Linked DNA regions of Homo sapiens: region 1 is linked to region 2. The links are contacts of gene promoters, found by promoter capture Hi-C in blood cells and fetal thymus (Javierre and others, 2016). All regions are on one chromosome and are shown on one strand. Each heading gives the region's core, a stretch centred on a gene start or on the middle of the fragment in contact. The rest is flanking DNA. Distances are from core to core; before and after follow the strand shown. Region 1 overlaps CDKN2B-AS1 (CDKN2B and CDKN2A antisense cis and trans regulatory RNA 1). Region 2 holds the start of CDKN2B (cyclin dependent kinase inhibitor 2B).

Evidence for each region. Contacts are between HindIII fragments. The CHiCAGO score rates a contact against its expected background, and 5 or more counts as called.
Region 1: a fragment that was not itself captured here is called in contact with the fragment with the promoter of CDKN2B in region 2 in 4 of 17 cell types (M2 macrophages, endothelial precursors, M1 macrophages and 1 more); the score reaches 9.2 in M2 macrophages.

What each region holds. Positions count from the first base shown.
Region 1 is chr9:22,112,027-22,117,944 of GRCh38, forward strand. It overlaps CDKN2B-AS1 (CDKN2B and CDKN2A antisense cis and trans regulatory RNA 1), which reads left to right. Exons shown (of 19, transcript NR_003529.4): 15 at 294-369; 16 at 1,640-1,773. Among named protein-coding and RNA genes, the nearest start is that of CDKN2B, 110 kb to the left of the region's middle. RefSeq lists an enhancer at 5,286-5,918. The HindIII fragment of the contact is 8,003 bases long and covers 1-5,257 here.
Region 2 is chr9:22,007,108-22,012,307 of GRCh38, forward strand. It overlaps CDKN2B (cyclin dependent kinase inhibitor 2B), which reads right to left and starts at 2,198. Exons shown (of 2, transcript NM_004936.4): 1 at 1,691-2,198. The coding sequence starts at 1,846. All of the region lies in intron 1 of CDKN2B-AS1 (CDKN2B and CDKN2A antisense cis and trans regulatory RNA 1), which reads left to right. It also overlaps the pseudogene UBA52P6. RefSeq lists silencers at 1,540-1,739, 3,863-4,157. The HindIII fragment of the contact is 2,577 bases long and covers 1,488-4,064 here.

The DNA of each region.
Region 1 (5,918 bases), core at 6-2,505, 100 kb after region 2:
CCACCACAGTAAGTATTTTCAAAGGAAAACAAAGTAAAATTTTTCTCTTGTATGAGTCACATCTCTGTTGGTTGTAAGTGGCTGAAACTCATCTTGAACTACCAAGGTAAGAGAAGAAACATACTGGTTAATGGAATTCCAGAAAGGACTGAACAATCAAACCATTTTGAAGGACAGCATAGAGCTGGACTCTAGAACAGCCAAAACAAGGGGTTAAACCACTGCGAGGGATCTCTCTCCAACTCTTGCTCAGGCTTTTCTCCCTGGCTTGACTTTCTTCTCTTTCACTGTAGATTGGCTTCTCTCACATGGCAAGAAACATTGCTGCTAGCACTTCCCGAGTTCTACGTTCTACAACATCCACCACTGGTGAGAGATTAACTTATGGTTTTTCTGTTGAAAAGTCAAAAATTACCTGGGAAAAGTCTGATTGTCTCAGATTGGAGATGTTGCCCATCTCTGGACCAATACACTATTATGTGTGGCTGACTATATAAAAACATGGATATTTTCTTGGAATCACTTGGTTTGACTGGGAGAAGACCATTCTCAAAACAAAGGAAGTGCAATTTATAGAAGGTAGTAGAATAGGCAGATAAAACAATAATTCTTCACTATATTGCTCAAATAATCCCCATGACATTTTTAGTATATTATAAAGAGAGTTCTAAAGTGTTTCCAAACTATTATAGCAAAATTTAATCTTATAATAATTTCTTCTTGAACTATGTATAATTTACCTGAAATATTTTCCAAAAAGCAATCAATGTGAGAAAATGAGAGCCCTGTCTTCTTAAAAAAATGAGTAAAAGTCCACAAGTTCAGAACAAAAGAAAATGAGGTAAGGCCTAAAATAAATTGTGCTAAGAAAGCTAAAATTCTAGACAAAGTCACATCGGCAAAACTAGAAGGTTGGTACTGTGCTTCAGTTTACTGCTTGCTGTTTGGTTAAGAGGAGGGGTGATGTGATAAAAATAGTGACGAAGTGAGAAAACTGACGTATTAGTTTTCTATTGCATTATAACAAGTCACCACAAACTTAGAGGTTTGAAATAACGCCCATGTATTATCTCGCAGTTCCTGTGTGTCAGACCTCCAGGCACTGCGTGGCTCGGCTGGGTTCTCTGCTTAGAATCTCACAGGTCAAAATCAAAGTATCAATGGGAGCTGCAGTTCTCCCAAGCTGGAGCCTGTGTCCCTTTTAAACTCTCAGGCTGCTGGCATAATTTATTTCCTTATCAAGCCATCCATATGATCCCCTCCATCTTCAGGCCAGCAATGGCCTGTCAAATCCTTCTCATTCTTTGAAAATCTCTGACTTCCCTTTCTGTCACAGCTCTGTAACTTCTTTTCTCTTCTGCCACCAGCAGAAGAGGCTTTTAAGAGTTTATGGGATTAGATTACATCCGTCTGGATAATCTTTTACTTAAAGGTCAACTATGCTATATAACATAGCCAATCACATTCGCACATTGCAGAGACTAGGGTATAAAATCTTCGGGGTCATTCCTAGAAATTCTGCCTGCTGCAGCCTGGTTTCTTGCTTGGACTCTAGTATATATTTGCTAAATCTCCCAAGCCTCAGTCTCACTATTTGCAAAAGTGAGTTTTAATGCTCTTTGCCCTGCTTGCCTCACAGGATCTTAACATAGACGTAAGATCAAATGCAATAGCATGTCAAACAATGTGTAACTCCAGTTATACAAACATTACTGTATCTCATTGGGGATACGAAGCTCTACACACTTGAAGATGGTGAAGGAATATAAAAATGTAAGTATTGCTTTTATAATAAATGTGTTCCTATTGGCTGAAAATTTCAATATCTGATACAAATAGTCAACTTTCTATTTTACTTTTTCTAATTATGCAAGACCTTGTAATCACAAATGTAAAAATTGCAAGCCACATGCCCCTAAGGCCAAATAAAAATTTGTAAAATTCTCTTAAAAAGACTCTATAGAGTCCAAATGAAAATACGTCGAGTCCTTTTAAAAGGATCCAACCACATATATCAACTGATATACATGGTACCAAAAACAATGGAATCTTTTCAGATTCTCTAATTGGCCTTTGGAACTTATGTAGCATCAGGTATGCAAATGAACAACTTCAGACCTTGATTACTCCAACCTCCTCTCCCACTGTCACAGCCACTTCTGTCATGACCTAGTTGTTCTCAGAAAGTTCCCTCTTATACCTGGTCAAACTTCTCTTACAATCACCTGTGACTTTCCCTCTTGGTCTTGGATCAAATCATCCTAAATACATTAAAAGTCCTGATTCTTCCTGTCCCTTAAATATATCTCTACTTGAATCACTGTGTTAGTTCAGGTCCTCTGAGAGAAAGATGTTAAGATGAAATTAGATGTGCAAGAGATTCGCCGAGGTAAACCTTGTGGGAGAAAATGGAGAGGTACATAGAGGAGCCTGGGCAGACTGTGTGGCTACTATGTAAGACTCATCCCCATGAAGGAGAAAGGAGAGGAAGGCAAAGAAGAAAAACCTTAAGATTTCAATTCTAAGAACGTTTTGACAAAGCTGATTAGGAGTATTTAAGGCAAAGCTGCCCACCAGAAGAGTACTGCATCTTTCAGGAACGGACTTGCTTTAGTACATCTGCTGTGCTTAGTAATTGGCTGGGAGCAGCCATAGAAAGCATGGACTCAGTACAAACTTGGTGATGAATTTCAGAGGCAGCGGCTAAGACCATCAGTCTATTATTTTCCTTGCAATAGCTGTCATAATTACTATCAGAGCAAACAATTTTTTGTGTGTGAATTCATGAGATAATGGTCTTTTCTTTCCTGCTTTCAAGAGCCATGTCATTGAAAGAGCTAATCATTCAAATTTATGCTGCATTACTGACTAAATACTTTCATTTATCATACTTTATTTTAAAATACTTTAACTCATGGCCCGATGATTTTCAGTTAACCAAATTCTCCCTTACTATCCTGGTTGCCCCTTCTGTCTTTTCCTTAGAAATGTTATTGTAGTATTTGCAAGATGGCCTGAATCCTGAACCCCCCATCTTCAATGAGCACCAAATGGTAATTATAGATTCCCAGCTGTAGAGCTATGTCAGACAAAGGAAACTTCATTAGTATGTACCAATGTTTGGACTCCAAATGCTTTTGTGTCTGAGTCACAAGGACTCCTCTTCCTTGGTGGCTTAAAGTTAGGCTGAAGAAGATTTACATTATGTTGTGCATGACCTCTTTAGTTTGGTTCTACTTATACTTTCAAGGAGGGAAGACTGGGGAAGGTGTCCCTTAGTGAGCATATTTTGTACAAATGAAAACAGGGTACTAACACTTATGCCAGGACGCATGCATAAACTAGGATGGTTCTGAGAAAACTGCGATATATGATCACTCCAGGGTCTCCCCTCTCAGAAGCGAGGGAGACTTAAACCTTTTACATCACCAAGTACATGGAAAGAAAGACAGCAGGGAAGTGATTCCGAAGAGAAACCTGAAAAAAGCAATGTGGAAAGATAGACACTTTAGCCTTTTCTTTCTTCTCAAAACTTCACATTCCTTTTCACTCTGCTTCACTTAAGCTGCCCTAGTTCCAGAGTGTTTCCTCTCTTGGGTGAAGATGGGAACAAGTACATGGGGTAGCAAGGGGTGGGTGGGACCTGTGCTCCCATTAAGGTTCTTCCAGAATCATTTCTATGTGATTATCAGCTTGGATCACATGGACTTGGGGATTATTGGTGGTTTTCTAGGGTAAACAGGGCATATTGTGCTGGAGGACATATTTTATATGTAACAATTTGGGGAAATTTTCTTTTATATTAAATAAAACTGAGATATGTAATGAATTAGGATGAAAAATTCATATTCATCTGAATTTTATAAGTGAATCATGAGAACTCAAAGATACTTAGCCCTTGGGACCATTTTTTACTCCTGTTCGGATCCCTTCAGCTAAGCATGATTATTTACTATTTTCAGCTATTAGTTATGTCTTGTTGAAAAAGTATGAAAAGAGCTGCCCAATAAATTAGAGTGTATGCTCAACATTCTCTTAGCTTCTTTATCTCTTTCCAAAATTGGATCAAATGACATTGGACATGATCAACTTCTTACTGTTTTGACAAACATCTGAGGATACTTTTATAATTGATAATTTGGACTAGATTATGCAATGTGTGATGAGACACAAGGTAGTCTGTACTCCCCATGATATGTATATCTGTTTGATATACTCAAACGGTGTATATCAAACGGATATAAGTTTGAGTAGGTATGGAGATGAGCCAGGGTTTATTTCTTCAACTAGTATTTACTGAATGGTCTTATGTGCCACAACTGTTCTGGAAACTGTGATACATTAATTAACAGATAAAGCCTTTCCCTCACAATGCATAACAGACCCAACAGAGTATGAATGTACATACAAACTAGTAAATAAGAAAACAAATAAAAGTATTCAGATAGTGCTATAACTACTGGGATGAAAATCGAGCAGGAAGGAAAATATAGCCTGCTTGATGTGGAAGACAGGGATAGCCTCTCTGAGGAGGTGACATTTGACCCAAGACCTAAATGAGGAGAAGGAGACAGTGAGATGAAAATGAGGGAAACAGCAATGGCAAATACAGAGAACTTGAGACAACTTGGCCCATTGGAGGGACAGAGACAAAGCCAATGTGGGACCACAGGGGATGAAAGGGAGGCTGATTGGAGAAATAGGCAGTGCTGAGGCCATAAAAGGTCCTATAGGTCATGGAAAGACATTTGGTTACCATTCTAATGACAGTGAGATGTTACTGGGGAGTTTTAAACTGGAGAATGTCATAACTGTCCAGATGTAACCAAATAGTAAAACCATTCTTCCTGAATAACTTGGCTAAAAGGAATATTATGACTACAGATGTACATGAAGATTAAGCAGAACATGGAAGAAAGGCCTCAAGTAAACTTGACCTCACATAAATATGGGAGGAAGATCAAATGGAAGCTGGGAGTGTTGAAAGAATGTAAGGGGAATGACTTCTAATAATGAACAAAAAGCTGTTATTTTATTATGAAGAAAAATGTTATGCATCTTATGCATGCAGAAGAAATTCCCATTCAAAAGACTTGGAAAATGTCTTGGGTGTTTACTATAATAAACCTTTTAAGATATAGAAAATTCACATATTTAGAGCTTAATTTCTAAAGAGCTCAGACTTCTCAGTTTATTATATGCTATGAAATTTTGTTTATTTTTAATTTAACCTACTTGTGTGCAAAATCAATAAGGAAGCTTAAGGAATATAAACAACTATTTAACATGGCCATTTAAATAGATTCAAAGTAAAGAATATCAGCATAGTGTTTCTTTGATATGACAACCCCTCCTCCCAGGGCACTTAAATGAAGGGTTGGGGGGGAATCTTAACCTGAAATTGAAAACCCTGAAATCATGTTTCCAAGGAAGGAGAAGGAAAATAGGAAAAACAAAAACAAAAAGCAGCAACTCATTTGGAAGCTCGTGGGAGAGGAGAGGAGGATTCATACATCTCGGACTGGTTTGCCTTAGCAAGTGAATCATTTAAATAGGAAAAAACAGGGGGCTGACTCAGCTTGAGCAAACTCTTGCTATCCCCTGCTGAGGTCCGCACTTGCTGTGGCCCCTGCCGCTCTCCTCGGACCTTGCTGCCCTCCTCCTTTGTCACTGTGGAGAAACAGGAAGGAATGTTTATTAGCAAGACTGACTGGGGTCACACCCAAGGCAATATCAGGTTTTTACCTCTCCCAGGCCTGGGAAGAGGTTCAAGGATCAAGGACAAGCTCCCGGTTAGAGTGAGAGGCAAGTTCAAACCTTTGAAAAATAAACTCACAACCAGCATTTGGCACAGGCCTCTGGAGTTTACAGAATGTATCTGCCTGTGTGTGATTTCATTAGTTCCTCCTGCCAATCTA
Region 2 (5,200 bases), core at 948-3,447:
CCAGCACTTTGGGAGGCCATAGCAGGCAGATCACCTGAGGTCAGGAGTTCGAGACCAGCCTGGCCAACATGGTGAAATCCCGTCTCTACTACAAAAAATAAAAAATTAGCTGGGCATGGTGGGGCGTGCCTGTAGTCCCAGCAACTCAGGAGGCTGAGGCAGGAGAATCGCTTGCATCCTGGAAGAGGTTGCAGTGAGCTGAGATTGTGCCACTGCACTCCAGCCTGTCCGACAGAGTGAGGCCTCATCTCAAAAAAAATAAAATAAATAAATAAATAAATAGAGCTTGGATGTTAGCAGTCAATCAGGATGATGCATAACTTAGAAAAAATGATGTTTTGCAGGAGTAATCCTGTAGCAGCCATTTGTGTACATGAACATTATGAAAACATTTGCTGTCATATTTAAAGTCAATTATAAGACAATTTTTGGTAACTAAATGTCTAAAATCGAGTTATTTGTTATGGGTTTATGCACTTTAAAATATACCATTTAATTGAAAGGCAGTATACTTCTCATGTTTTGTTGGCTTGTTTCATTAATATTAGAAATGTTCATTTCATCTCTTAAAAACCGTGATAAGTTATATCTACTAGTGATGTAAGGATATTTTACATAGAAAAAAAGGGGAAAATAGCTGCTGTTAGTATTTCAGAAAATGGTGAATTACATATATAACTTGTTTTTATAATTATTAATAAAATTTTAAGTTTTTAAGATGCACTTTACAATATTTTTGCTCCTTTAAAAATCCCTCATTTGTTATACCATTATTCTAAGAATTCAAAAGAAATGAACACTTCTTTAAAATCTATACTATTAACAAGATCCCTTAATATTAGCTTAGTTTTAGAGGGTGATAGTGAGGTGAGTACTGAATATGACCACTAGCCAACGGTAAAGTACAAAAGAGTTGTCCGAGATTGTAAAAGAAATAAAAAATATCAGTACTAATTAAAGCAGGATTCGTACTTAAACATTGAATAAGTGTATTTTAACAATGAAGATAAAGATGCATTATTTATGAAGATCCTTTGCCATTCAAAAAGGACCTAACAGTTGCTGCAGGAATATTTTTGTAATCTGGGCACTGAGTATGATAATTAAAGAATGAGAAACCTATAGAACTATATATTTTTTCTCTTATGCATCACTCATAAGACACTGCTAACATAAAAGGAACTAAGTACTGTGGTTGAGGAATCCCGTCTCATTCTCAATTAACCTCTATGAGAAAACAATACAACAGATTTCATATAGTAGCTTAGAAGTTTACATTGATTTTTTCCATGTACTATGATTTTGTAGAATTCCTTAAATCCAATCTAGAATGCGTAACTTATACTTTACTTATCTTTATCGTTGAAAGCAGACAGACAAGATAATCTTCTTCCCTAAATAAGCTTTCCTTTTCTCCTTTTCTCCCCAATTCAGTCTATTCCTTGCATCTCTGATCATGAGATGGCAGAACAAAAACCACTAAAAAAAGCTTAAACAGTGGGTTTTTCAATGTCTCTCTTTAGGATTTTTGCTGGGTAAAAGCCTGTTTTACGCGTGGAATGCACACCTCCGGCCAACGGAGACTCCTGTACAAATCTACATCGGCGATCTAGGTTCCAGCCCCGATCCGCCGAGGCCGCGCCCCGCGTTCGCGCGCCCCCTGCCGGCGAGGCCCTGGGGCCCCAGCTACCTGGATCGCGCGCCTCCCGAAACGGTTGACTCCGTTGGGATCCGCGCCGGCTTCCAGGAGCTGTCGCACCTTCTCCACTAGTCCCCGCGCCGCGGCGCTGGCCAGACCCTCATCGCTGCCGCCCCCACTGGGCATGCCCTTGTTCTCCTCGCGCATTCCGCAGCCCCCAGACGCGCAGCGGCCCGGATAATCCACCGTTGGCCGTAAACTTAACGACACTCTTCCCTTCTTTCCCACGCTGCTCCGGCGCACTCTCTCCTTCCTAGGAGACCTGGGCTCAGCTTCATTACCCTCCCGTCGTCCTTCTGCGGCTTGGGGCCCCGTGCAGTGGCCGAGCGGCCGGTCGTTAGCTCCGGGCTTTTCCTGGCGCTCAAGAACCAGCGGGCGCGCCTGGATTGCTTCTGGGAAAAAGCGCCTAGCGCGGACGCAGCCGAGCTCAAAGCCGCTCTGGCCGCAGGGTGCGGACGCGTCGCGGAGTCCTCACTGCCCCGCCTCGCTCTGGCAGAGTGGGGAGCCAGCCGGCAAAGAATTCCGTTTTCAGCTGGGCCAAGGGGCCGGCGTCTCCCCACCCCCTTAGGCTCCGCCCCCTGTCCGCTGTGATCGCCGGGAGGCCAGGCCCGGGCCGACGCGTCACGAGGGCGGGGAAGCCTGCCCAAAGATGCTAGGACGCATGCGCCAGAGACTGGGCCAGGGAGCCGCCAGGAATGCTGGCTGCACTGCTCGCTGGATGTCCAGTAAAGCCAAGGCTAATATTTTGGGAATGTTCACCACTGCCCTCAGCTCCTAATCCCCAGTAGGCGGAGCAGAGGATTTCTGTTCCTTCAGCCAGCCAGTTGGTTTCACTGTGGAGACGTTGGTGGCTCCCTTGTGACCGAGAGAAAGTCATTCAAAATAACTCCGTGTTTCTTAAGATGTCTGAAAGCGACAGCTCTGCACCTGTCATACAAGTTAAATTCATCCCCAGGCAGTACTTGGGCTTCACAAGTTTCATAACTTGTATCAAACTTAGCAATTTTCTCTTGGATGTGTCTTTCTGTTTGAATTAGTCAACCATAAAAATAGAGAAAAATCCCGAGAATCATGTTTTGCGTGTGCTTTTTAATTCTTTCCATTTTTGCATTATGGATACAACCCTTAAAAGAGAAAAAAACTAGTTCGAGATTGAGAGTGGCAACCTGGCACACATAAGACAAAAAAAAATTATACTTTAAGAATCTGAGATCCCAGTTTCATCATATTTGTACAGTAAATCTTTGTTTGCACTCTTACCTATTTAAACCCACTTTGTCAGGTATCTTATTTTTATTTATCATGAGTAATAAAGGAAATTTATGCAGTAATAATGAAACATCATAAGAGAGGGGTGTGGTGCTGGGCTTGTCATTAAACAGGCTGAACCTGTCATTAAATTCTCTTCTGAAGATTTAAATGCCAAGTGCTTTTTTTCCCCTTCCTAATCTTCCTAGGTGAGTTTGAATCAACATTTATTACTTAAAATATTTAAAACATTTCAGCGGATGCTACATTGGATAGGAAGAGAACCGCAAGTTATGGATTTGTTGCCTAAAAACTTTGGTGAGGAACTGCATAAGTGGACCTCTCCTAAAAGTGAACAATTTTTGTTTACAGAATCATTTTGGTTCGGAGTGCTGAGGAAGACAAAGTCTTAACAGGAGGGCAATTGCTTGTGTATTGCAAAATGAGAGTCTTCACATGTTTTTTTTAGGATACCTTAGCTCTGACTCCTCATCCCCCAAATCCCTGTAGAATTAAAAAAAGCTCTTTCTTTTAAAGGCAGTGGAAGTGCCACCACCATGGAAGTGCTGGTTAGGGCTGAAAATCTACTGACAGAGCCTCAACAGAGCTGAAATCCACCTGGACAGGGAAGGGAACCGGGTAGCATTAATAACAATTTCTTTTTCTTTCCCATCCAACCCCCATTTCCTAGTCTTCAGTTTCTTAATTTCTCTACCTTTTACTCTTATGCTCTTGTTTTGACCTTTGAGTTTCTCTGAAACTTATCAGAAAAGTTAGGACAAGATAGTCTGACCCAATTCTTGAGCCATTTTCTTAGGTAGTAAATATGTCAGAAAAATGAAAGCTGTTTGGAGTTGATAAGGAAATGGAAGATAATGTTTTTCTTTGAGGGGGACATAAAGAATGGTGATAGGGAAAGAACCAATGACTAAGTAAAATGACTGAGAATCTTGCACGAGGCAGATGTGTGAGCTTCGCGAAGCAAGTTGACTGAATGAAAAACAACTTTGGGTAGGGAAAACGTTGCCGGGGGCATTCGCGCTTACTAGCACCACGGACAGCGCTTTGCTTATACTCAGGCCTGGGTGGTCCTAACCAGCTCCAGACAGAATTCTAAAGCTTCACACTTGATCTTCCAAAGCCCCTTTTCTCCCGTCAAATAGAAAGGACATTATGGAAGCTCAATGAATTTCTTTGAAAAACCAACCTGCTCAACCTGGTTTTCAAATATGATTGGATTTTATCTAATATTCTCTGTATAAAGAATATTATATAGTCTATATTTAGAAGACGAGAAGAGAAATCAAACTTATTGTGTACTCTGTACGAAGTGCTTTACAGCTGTTGTTTCATTTAATACTCATAAAACTCCTCTGTGGCATGTGTCCATATTTCAATTTTACAGACAAGCCAAAAGGATCAGAGAATTTGAGTGACTTGTATACTAGCTAATCATTGTTGGAGGTGGGTATAACTTTTGCGACTTCAGAGTCTTTTTACCCTTTATACTACATAGTGTTTTTTTTAGCAGCTGTCATGGTAGGCTTAACTGGAAAAAAGTAATAAACTGGCTTATAATTATTTTTCAGTCTACACTGTGTTTTCCAGATGGCTCACCTCACAGCACACCCTTACCAGACTTCAAAGATGACATTTCACATGTAATACAATAGCACATTTGTCTTGGACAATAGAGTGAGATTATGAAACATTTTACCTCTCCTTGAAACCCAGCTGTCTCTAGGGTGAAACACAATCTGTTGTTAATGCTTTAAACACATTTAAAAGATGAAGTGGATGGGAACATAGTGGGCAGCTGAAACTTGGAATTGTCAGAGCCATGTCTTTTAATAAGGTGGAGAATTTATAATTGAGAAGAAAGAAAGAGAAAGTTAATGGTAAATTGGCATAGAATTTTGGAGGTCAGTAGAAGGGAATGAGTGGCATCCATTCCAATGTTGCACATAACTCAGATCACTAGTAATAATATTTTTATATTCTAGTTGGTGAAATTGTCTGTATATGACCTTGATATAGAAGTATGAACAGATCTGCCATCCTCTTTTTCTTCAGCGAGGCAGCCGAGCTGCAGACACAGAGATGCAGATCTTTGTGAAGACCCTCACGGGCAAGACCATCACCCTTGAGGTCGAGCCCAGTGACACCATTGAGAATGTCAGTGCGAAAATTCAAGACAAGGAGGGTATCCCCCCTGACAAGCAGCGTCTGATATTTGCCAGCAAACAGCTGGAG